Linked DNA regions of Homo sapiens: region 1 is linked to region 2. The links are contacts of gene promoters, found by promoter capture Hi-C in blood cells and fetal thymus (Javierre and others, 2016). All regions are on one chromosome and are shown on one strand. Each heading gives the region's core, a stretch centred on a gene start or on the middle of the fragment in contact. The rest is flanking DNA. Distances are from core to core; before and after follow the strand shown.

Region 1 (4,213 bases), core at 1,560-4,059, 430 kb before region 2:
ATGGAGCCGCCTAAGGAAAAAGATACACAAGAAATAAGGGTTAGACAAATACCACATCTATTTCCAAAACCAGTAAACTTACCATGAGAACACCTTTCCAGTGTAGGGCTTAGTTTGAATTCCATCATAACAAAGAAAAACAAATCTTCATTATGTTTTTCCAGAATCTAGGCCACATCAAAATTCTCTGATTGTCATAGCACATCACATGGCATAGACAGCATAAATGCACTAGAGAAATAAATGTTAACATACAAAACACAAGAGGGCAATGTGAAAAGATAGTATCTGTGAGGGAGGTGTTGATGCCTCTGTTATTAACTGCAGCTCAAAGCATTGTTCATGAGGCACTGACTGCCTCTCAACACAGTGTTATCTCCTTGGCATGTGCTTGAAGTTTTGGGTCTTTCTTGCTTTCCTCTAATCTCCACCTTCTGTCGTTGTTAGTGAGCCTCAGTTTGGACTGAAATCCTGTGGCACGCAGAGCTACATGATCAAAGCCTTGTGTAGGCATTTGGGTCAGTGCCAGCAAAGTTCAGGTTGTACTTCAAACGAGTCCTCAGAGTGCCTCACAGCCAAGGGCAAGGGTTCACTGGGTTTGATCTTGAGCTGCCCACATTTAGGGAGTCTTCGGCCCCTTCAGTTGATAAACCCTGCTTGGCAGAGCTCTGCTTTAATTAACGTGGCCCTTGGGTCGATTCGATTTCCTATGTGTCAGCACCTGACTGGGTGTAACCTTATCTTTGCACATCATACTCATGATGGATCTGAAACAGTACAGGTGATGTTTGTCTTTGACCCAACAGCTGGATTACATCCCAGTTTCACAGCCACAGAAGAAAAGTCTGAAATCTCAACTCCTTATTGACATTTTATGGAGCAGCCACATTGGGTGAGATACTAATATGACTGGACACGGTGATTCCAGTAAAAAGATGATTACTTAAAAGTTTATTTCTCTACTAAGTGTAAGTGTTAGAGGCAATAGAAATAAATAAGTGATACATCTTATGGTTCTTGGGGGTGACATGGAGGTATCTCTCCGAAGCTTGGAAGTTAGGGCAAGTAGTTGTGCTCTAAGCATTAAGTTACTTAAATACATGCATAATTGAAGGAGATAGAATGTTTCTTTACCTTTTGCAAAATGTGATTTCAGAAGAAGCAGGAGTACAGCCCAGTGTCCTAAGGAGCATGAGTCCTACAGTGCTTCTCAAATCTGTTTGGGACAATCTTCCATAGTCACAGTGCCGATTTCACTTTGTTTACATTTGCATTTCTTAAACATGTTTTAAACCATAGAACTCTATCACATGACCTCTTGCTTTTTTAAAAATGTCATACTCATTAGTGTACTAAGGAGCTAATTTACAAGGCATACTTACTCTGGGAATATGGCCTATCCCAGGCTAAGGACAAAAGCTCACCTTGGATGATCTGCACTGGAACACAAAATAAGTAATCATATAGGCAGAGTTTTGTGACTTGTGTAGAATTGTCCTAGAGAGATGGTGATGGAAGTGAAAGGGGGAATCACTCCAGTCACCAGAGATCATGTCCGTGTGCATGTATGTGTGTTTGTGTGTGTACACATGTGTGTATGACTTGAAGTGTCATCTCATCTGTCCTTACCGTAGTCTGTATGGAACATCCTCTGATACTATTCGCTCTCCCTTTGCAGATTTCTGATTAAAAATGTGATATGAGGAAGGTGTTCCATGGATAGGAGCAAGGTATTCTGGACCCCAGAAAGGGATATCCTCCACTATGGATAGTGAAAATTTTCTTTTACTTATTAGTTTCTTGTGAATTAACCAGATACAGTATGACCATCTCTGAATACCCTGAAAAATACCTGGGTCCAAATAGTGGCTTTGCTACTCACTAGATGTATACTCTCAGGCTGGGCTCCATTTCTTCATTTGTGTATTGGGGATACTACGATCTTGTGGGATTTCCATAAGTATTAAACAAAATATGATTAGCGCCTTTCACATCATAAGCATTCCACAAATCTATTTCATAGTTTTGTTGTTTCTATTATGATTCCTTATTGCAAAGATCAACAGACATTAGCACAATTTATAATGTGTTAGAGCCCTTCAAACATGTTCCTCAACGGCCATTGTTAACAACATGTGCATTGCTGTCTTTGATTCACCATTGCTAAGGCAAAATGAGTGATGATATATGTGAAAAATGAAAGAAAAGGTCTATAGATAGGCAAGATGCCTTTTTCCTTTGACTTTCAGCTCCTGGAAGACAGGGGCCTTGTATCTCTATACCCGGAGTGCCTAGTAATGGGCAGGTATTTCTGCTGAATGAATGGATATGCTAATTATCAACTAGAAGGTTCTGAAAAAGAGAGTTGTCGTTGGAGGTGCTGTGTAGATCCAATAATAATAGAAACCAGCTCCTGGAAGGGAATGCCAGCTTGGCAGAGCTTGCGAGTGAGAAGCAAGTCTTTAATAAGCTATTGGTGTTCATAGCTAGAGAGAAAGGGGAATTTAGATTGGGAGACGGGATGGCTTCAAGGATTCCTGATCAGGTTTTTATTCTGACGAAAGCTTGCTGGAAAATGTCTCAGCTCTCTGATATTGTGAATGCCTGTCTGCAAGAGGCGCAGGAAAATCAGGCGAAATCGGTTAGGGTGTTCTGCTCAGTAAGGCTGAATGTGATGGATGGCTCGGTGTGCTGTTTATCTACTGCAGGTTGGTATTTCACCTCTGTTTTCATTAGACTGATGGTAAGGTAATAATTCTTTCCTCTGGCTGAAAAATCTGTCTTCAGCCATTTGTTGATCTTCTTGAACGGGAAGTTCAGGTGCACAGAAGTCACCCTAAAGGAGATTTTGAATGAAAACTTAAATAATGCTGGTCGGCATCCACGGAGCTCTCCGGCAGCACAGGCCTCCGCTAGACTGGCTGTGATTATTAGGTGTGCAGCGTCACATTTGCCCAAGGACAGCAAGCCTACGGAATGATACAGGGTAACCACCGCTGTAGGAAACAAAGCGTGAACATCACATTTGATTTCTTTGGAAACACTCAAGCTTATATTGTAAATTAAATTAAAGCAATGCAGTCTTTATGAGGTGTTTCCATGTAGCACTGTGTTACGGTGGAAAATGCCCCAGCCCGGGCCTCGGAAGTCTCCACCATGATACTCCCTCTGGGCAAATCTCTTAATGTCTCTGAGCCTCCATTTCTTCATCTCTCAAGAGATAATAATAATGTATGCACTGGTTTTTAATAGAAAGCTCTTATCAAGATGATATAGCTTTGAGTTTTTTCCCAAGGCGAGGAGGAACAAACAGAACAATGACAGAGGCTAGTGGCTTTAGTAAGCTGCAGCTCTATAGCTCCTCCCTCTTTCCAACCTCTCTGATGGAGGGCACAGAAAGGAAGATGACAGAGTTGGCTCATTAAGCATTGATCAAGGAAGGACTCTCCCCACACCCGACAGAACAGATCCATCCAAGCAGTTTTCTGAGTTTGTGAGCTGATGGGCAAAGTGATAGAGCTTCCACTCACAGGGCTCGTCAGTTGCTCCATCGGGAAGGGGACTGCTGAAAGGTTTCATCCACCCGAGACAGAGTGGCCAGTAGAAAAGACAGAATCTTGTAACTGCTGGTTCTAACTCGTGGGACTTCCATTAAGGATGAGGGTCCCTTTCTTCCTATAAACCTGTGAGGACAGCCCATCCATTACTTCTATACTGTGGGTTACCTGCATAAGAAACGGTTCTCATTTAATGTAACGAGGTGCCCATATGTCCTGATTTGTTCCTGACAGTCCTATTTATGCTTTTTGTCCCAGAATAAATATTACAGCACTACCATTAACTCTCAGAGTCTCTGGGTTTGGTCAGTAAATTATATGACACAAACGCATTAATTTTATAATAGGCACCTTCTCAATTCCCAGCAAATGCTTCATATGTATCACCACTAACCTCTCTACCATCGGTTTGGTTGATTTGTGATATACAAATACAAATACATTTTTACTTTATATTTTTCACATAGCAATTTCTAGTCATCAATATCATTTTCACAGCACTCCTGAGTTGAGGGAGAGTAATTACAAAGAATTGTGATTAATAAAATGATGAAGGATTTTCTTTCAAATACATTTATGAGAATAAACTAACATAACTTTTGTATAGTGTCAATTAAATGCAAACTTACTGGCCAAGCACAGTGGCTCAAGCCTGT
Region 2 (4,734 bases), core at 173-2,672:
TGGGGGTTGTTCCAGAGAGGGGAAGTTGGAGGGGAGCCACAGGAATGGCCGTGGCCAGAAGCCCTTCTCGTTCCCTTTTCTTCTGTTTCATCCTGCGGTTCTGGAACCAGATTTTGACTTGCGTGTCATTCAGGTGCAAGCAGTTGGCTATCTCGATGCGCCGGGCTCGAGTTAAGTACTTATTGAAATGAAACTCTTTTTCCAGTTCTGTCAGTTGCTTGGTGCTGAAATTCGTGCGGATCGCGCTGGAGGGGCTAGCGGCCCCATACTCGGCGAGTTTGCCTGCAACGTAAAGACAGGGCGTCAGCCAGGCCTGAGGCCGGGGACAGAATGTGGGTGAGCAGTGGAGCTAGTTAGAATCAAAGTCCCAGCGCAGCCCTCCTGGGTCCCTAGGAACAGAATTTGTACCAGGAGAAGTTCCACGGAGAGCTCCTTCCTGAAATTTTCTCAATGCCTGGCACATTTTCCGAATCTGTACTCGAGGCAGACTCCATGGAATTCGCCCGGGAACGCGTCTCCTCCACAAAACCCAAACCGCTGTCTGGAAAGGCAGCGACACCACGCTCCCAGCGCATTTCCGCGGGGGAGGCTCCGTCCCCAACCCCAGGTGGCCCCATCCAAGGCCCGCGGACTTACCTTTCTTAGAGGCATTCCTCTTCACTTTCATCCACTCGAACGTGCTGAAGGCGGCAGGGAGGCCGGAGGCGGGAGAGACGGACTTGGGGTAGGTGCCTGGGGCCGGGGATGCGGTCTGGAAAGCACCAGGGTGGCCGTCGGCTGACGCTTTGAGACAAGCCGGAAAAGGGCCGGGTTCGCCGAAGGCCGCGTAATCCACCTGGCCGCTGAGGAGGAAAGAGCCGCCGCCCGAGAAGACGGCCGAGGTGGCGTAGTGGACGTGAGACCCGCCGTCGTCGGCCGCCCGCCCCAGCACGCCCGGGAAGTCGTACGCCGGCCCGGACCCCAGGAAGCCGTAGTCCGCGCCCCCAGCTGCCGCGGCAGGTGCGGCACCAGGTTCGTAGGCCCCCTCCAGGGTGCACTGCGCGTACTGGGGCGCGGCCGGAGGCGGTACGGACGGCCGCGCGGGGGCGGCCGGGGGCGAAGGCGAGGGTCGGGCGGCGGCCAGGGGCAGACAGCTGACGAAGGCGCCGTCGCCGTTGCCCAGAGGGAAGGCGGGCTGCAGAGCCACGGGCCGGGCGTCGGAGCGGCAGAACTTGGGTGCCAAGCTGAGCACGTCGCCGCCGACCCCGCCGCTGCTGCTGCATGACACGTACTCCAGGTAGGAGCTCATGGTTCGGGCCCCACCTTTCTGAGGGCGCAGGCCGGGGCCGGAGTACGGAGCCGGGCAGAGGCTGAGCAGGACTGCCGCCGTCTGCGCCGCTCCGCCAGCCCTCTCTACCCGAGCTGCCCTCTCCAACCCATGGCGAGTGAGCCGGAGGTAAATAGTGGCCTAATATACCGGCGGGGGCGGCCACGTGGCGCTGGCCGGCCAATGGGCGGCCTCTCCGCTCGGCCCGGTCGGCGCGCCGCTCCTCGCGCCTGCCCCGCAGCCAAGTTAGCCAAAGCAGCCCAGGGCCGCCGCCCAGCGCCCCCGAGCCCCGAGGAGAGCCGTCGCGACCGGGGGCTGCCTGGGCAAGGGCGGGGCGAGAGGGCAGAACGCCTGCTCTCGGACAGGTATTGGGCGAGGTGGGGGGAGAAAGGCAGGACTGGACGCTTGGGTGAGGGCCCGTGGATGCAGCGGGGCGAGCCGCTTCTGCTCTGGATCGTGGGGGGGGCTAGTCCCTCGAGGGCGGAGTGTGGGCGTCGCGGCATGGAAAAGGTTAAATGGGAGCGTGACGCGCGGCCGGTGGAGACTGCTCTTCGCCCACCTCCAGGACAGATAAAGTTATTCCTCTTCCCCTCTTCTGAGTCCTCTGCGCTTTCGGTTTGCTTGGCGCTGATGTTATCCCTCTTCTAAACCTAGAGCAGATGTTTGGTTTTTTCCTTTCTTCCCCCTTTCCTAGGACTCATGGAACTACATCTTATGCTGTGAGTGCTGTGTGCCTAGGGCGGGACAAAATTTTCACTTTTTGACTAGGCTTCCTTTTAACGTGACTTTGCAGCTTTCTTCTATCCCTCGCAATTTGTGGCGGCGTGATGAGGGCCAGTGTTGTAGTGCCAGATTTTGATAAAGTTTCTGCCTTGTGGGGTGGTTTAGCAGATTTTCCCCTCCGGCTGGGTTGTTGGAATAAAGAATCCAGAGTGGTGGTGGAACACTCCTTATGCTCCTTTCTGGGAGACTGGCACAGGCACCGGTGCGGCGCTTGCTTTCACTGAGGAGCTTGTCTGGAGGGCGCAAGGGCTTACCGGGGACGGGTGAGATCTCAGAGGTTTAGATGGACTTGTACCTCGAAGCAATTAGAGCTTCTGCTCCATCAGATAAGTGCTGCATCGTCTCTTGTGAGTGAAATCTGAGGGCTCACAATGTTAATGGGCTCACGTCTTTCCCTTGATAATATGGTTTTGTTTACTGAGTGTAGAGAGACGGGAAATAAAAGTGCAATTGCCACAGGAAATGAAGAGTAGAAAGGTTACAAAGACCAGCTTTACATTGACAAACTTTCCAACTTCCTTTAGTATTTCTTTTAATGTTCCCTTTTGAGGGGACTGTAGGAAAATTACAAATTAGATAAATAGAGGTTATTTACACACAGTAGTTATGAAAGAGGGTGGTTTCCTAAAACCCTGTGTGAATAAAGACTCTAAAGAGTCTACTCAGAGCTTATATCAAGTGCCCTTGAAAAGTTAATCTATTACAGCCTCTAAGTTATGGTAACCGAGGTTTTATCATTGTTTTACTGATTGACTTGTCATAAAAGAGCGATTGAGCTGTTGTTGCCTAAATTTCCACTCTGAGGAAGTCTTTAGAATAGGCGCCATCACAGCCCAGGGAGCCAGTTCCTTCCAGGGTTGTGGACTTGTGAATAAACAAAGCCCTACCAAAATGTGGACTACTGATGGACCCGAAGTTGCTGCAGGATGGGGGAGGGATGTCCCCAGGTTGAGGGGAGCCAGTAGAGGGTGGATGCCTAGGAATCAGCACAAAGTTAAAGAGGTCTGTGGTTCCTGCACTGCTGGAGTTCTTGAGTTTGATTGGAAATGGAATACCTGTGCTGAAAATAGCCCTTCAATCTTGATTTTGCTATTTCAGTTGTGCTATAGCCAGTCAGATAAGGTCCTAAATAATTTTTATTTATTTATTTATTTAATTTTTTTTTTTAAGTGCAGTGGCGCGATCTCGGCTCACTGCAAGCTCAGCCTCCCCGATTCACGCCATTCTTCTGCCTCGGCCTCCCGAGTAGCTGGTACTACAGGCGCCCACCACTATGCCCGGCTAATTTTTTGTATTTTTAGTAGAGACGGGGTTTCACCGTGTTAGCCAGGATGGTTTCGATCTCCTGACCTCGTGATCCGCCCGCCTCGGCCTCCCAAAGTGCTGGGATTACAGGCGTGAGCCACCGCGCCCGGCCCTAAATAATTTTTAAGAAGAGAAAAATAAAAGTTCTTCCCTAACACCCCAGTTAGGAAATGTTAGAGCTCTTCAGAGCTAGCTCAGCCTTAAAATGTAGACACGTTTCTTCACTGCTCTCCTGTGCCATTTATGCAAAAGTAACAGCAAATAAGATGCTGCTGAGTTCACAATGCCCCCTCCTCCACCTCTGGCTAGATTTTAATAGCCAGTTTTTATCTGCAAGATGTCCCAGCTCTCACAGTGTTCCCTCAAATGATACTTATCCTATCACAACTCCAAAGCCTAGAGGCCCCATGGGTCAAGAAGGAAGGATGACTTTGTAAACCTCTTTGGGGAAGACATCCAGCCGGCTGCAACCCAGGGTTTAGGGCAGAAGAGTCAGCCTGACTGTCCGGCAAGTCTGACCAAAACCCCTCAAATTAAGGGCCTTTTCTCTAAGGTTTCAGAAAAATCAGGCTGCCTAGGTGTCCTGGCAGCTTTCATGGCAACAAAGACTAAGTTTTTCCTCCTGGGCATTTGGGGCAAAGGCTGGGTCCTTCATGATATAATTAGGCCTTGACTTTAATGCACCCATGAGCTATCCACACTAGCTCCATCAAGTAAAATTTTGGAGATTTAGCCTTTCTGAGGGAAGAAAGTGCCCTAAAAAAGAATGAAGTTTTTAAAAATACTGTTTTGTTTTGTTTTGTTTTCACAACTGTGGGTGAGAGCGAGGGAGAGGTGTTCAATATTTGTTCAGACCCAATAGCATTTCTTTGATAATCGCATACAGAAAACTACATTCTGGCTGGGCACGGTTGCTCACACCTGTAATCCCAGCACATTGGGAGGCTGAGATGGGTGGATCACGAGGTCAGGAGATCAAGACCAGCCCGGCTAACACGGTGAAACCCCATCTCTACTAAAAAAAATAAAAATAAAAATAAATTAGTGGCACACGCCTGTAGTCCCAGCTACTTGGGAGGCTGAGGCAGAAGAATCGCTTGAACCCAGGAGGTGGAGGTTGCAGTGAGCCAAGATCATGCCACTGCACTCCAGCCTGGGTGACAGAGCGAGACTCCGTCTCAAACAAAAAGAAAGCTACATTCTGTTCACCCTTCTCTCCACTCCCTTAATCTCCAAATCCTTGGCATATCCCACACCTTGGGGCTCAGAGTTAGCATCTCCATTCTTGGACTGGTTCTTGACTTGCTCAGGTTGGAAGTCATGACTCTGGTCATCTCATA

What was found. The method cuts DNA at HindIII sites, captures the fragments that hold promoters and counts their contacts. A CHiCAGO score of 5 or more calls a contact.
Region 1: a contact is called between a fragment that was not itself captured here and the fragment with the promoter of HOXD1 in region 2, in 1 of 17 cell types (fetal thymus). The highest score is 5.1, in fetal thymus.

What each region holds. Positions count from the first base shown.
Region 1 is chr2:176,617,920-176,622,132 of GRCh38, reverse strand. All of the region lies in intron 4 of LINC01116 (long intergenic non-protein coding RNA 1116), which reads left to right. Among named protein-coding and RNA genes, the nearest start is that of LINC01116, 18 kb to the left of the region's middle. RefSeq lists an enhancer at 21-1,220. The HindIII fragment of the contact is 485 bases long and covers 2,567-3,051 here.
Region 2 is chr2:176,185,356-176,190,089 of GRCh38, reverse strand. It overlaps HOXD1 (homeobox D1), which reads right to left and starts at 1,422. Exons shown (of 2, transcript NM_024501.3): 1 at 637-1,422; 2 at 1-282. The coding sequence starts at 1,288. It overlaps HAGLR (HOXD antisense growth-associated long non-coding RNA), which reads left to right and starts at 1,132. Exons shown (of 3, transcript NR_033979.2): 1 at 1,132-1,276. It overlaps MIR7704 (microRNA 7704), which reads right to left and starts at 1,247; the gene lies at 1,189-1,247. The HindIII fragment of the contact is 11,390 bases long and covers 1-4,734 here.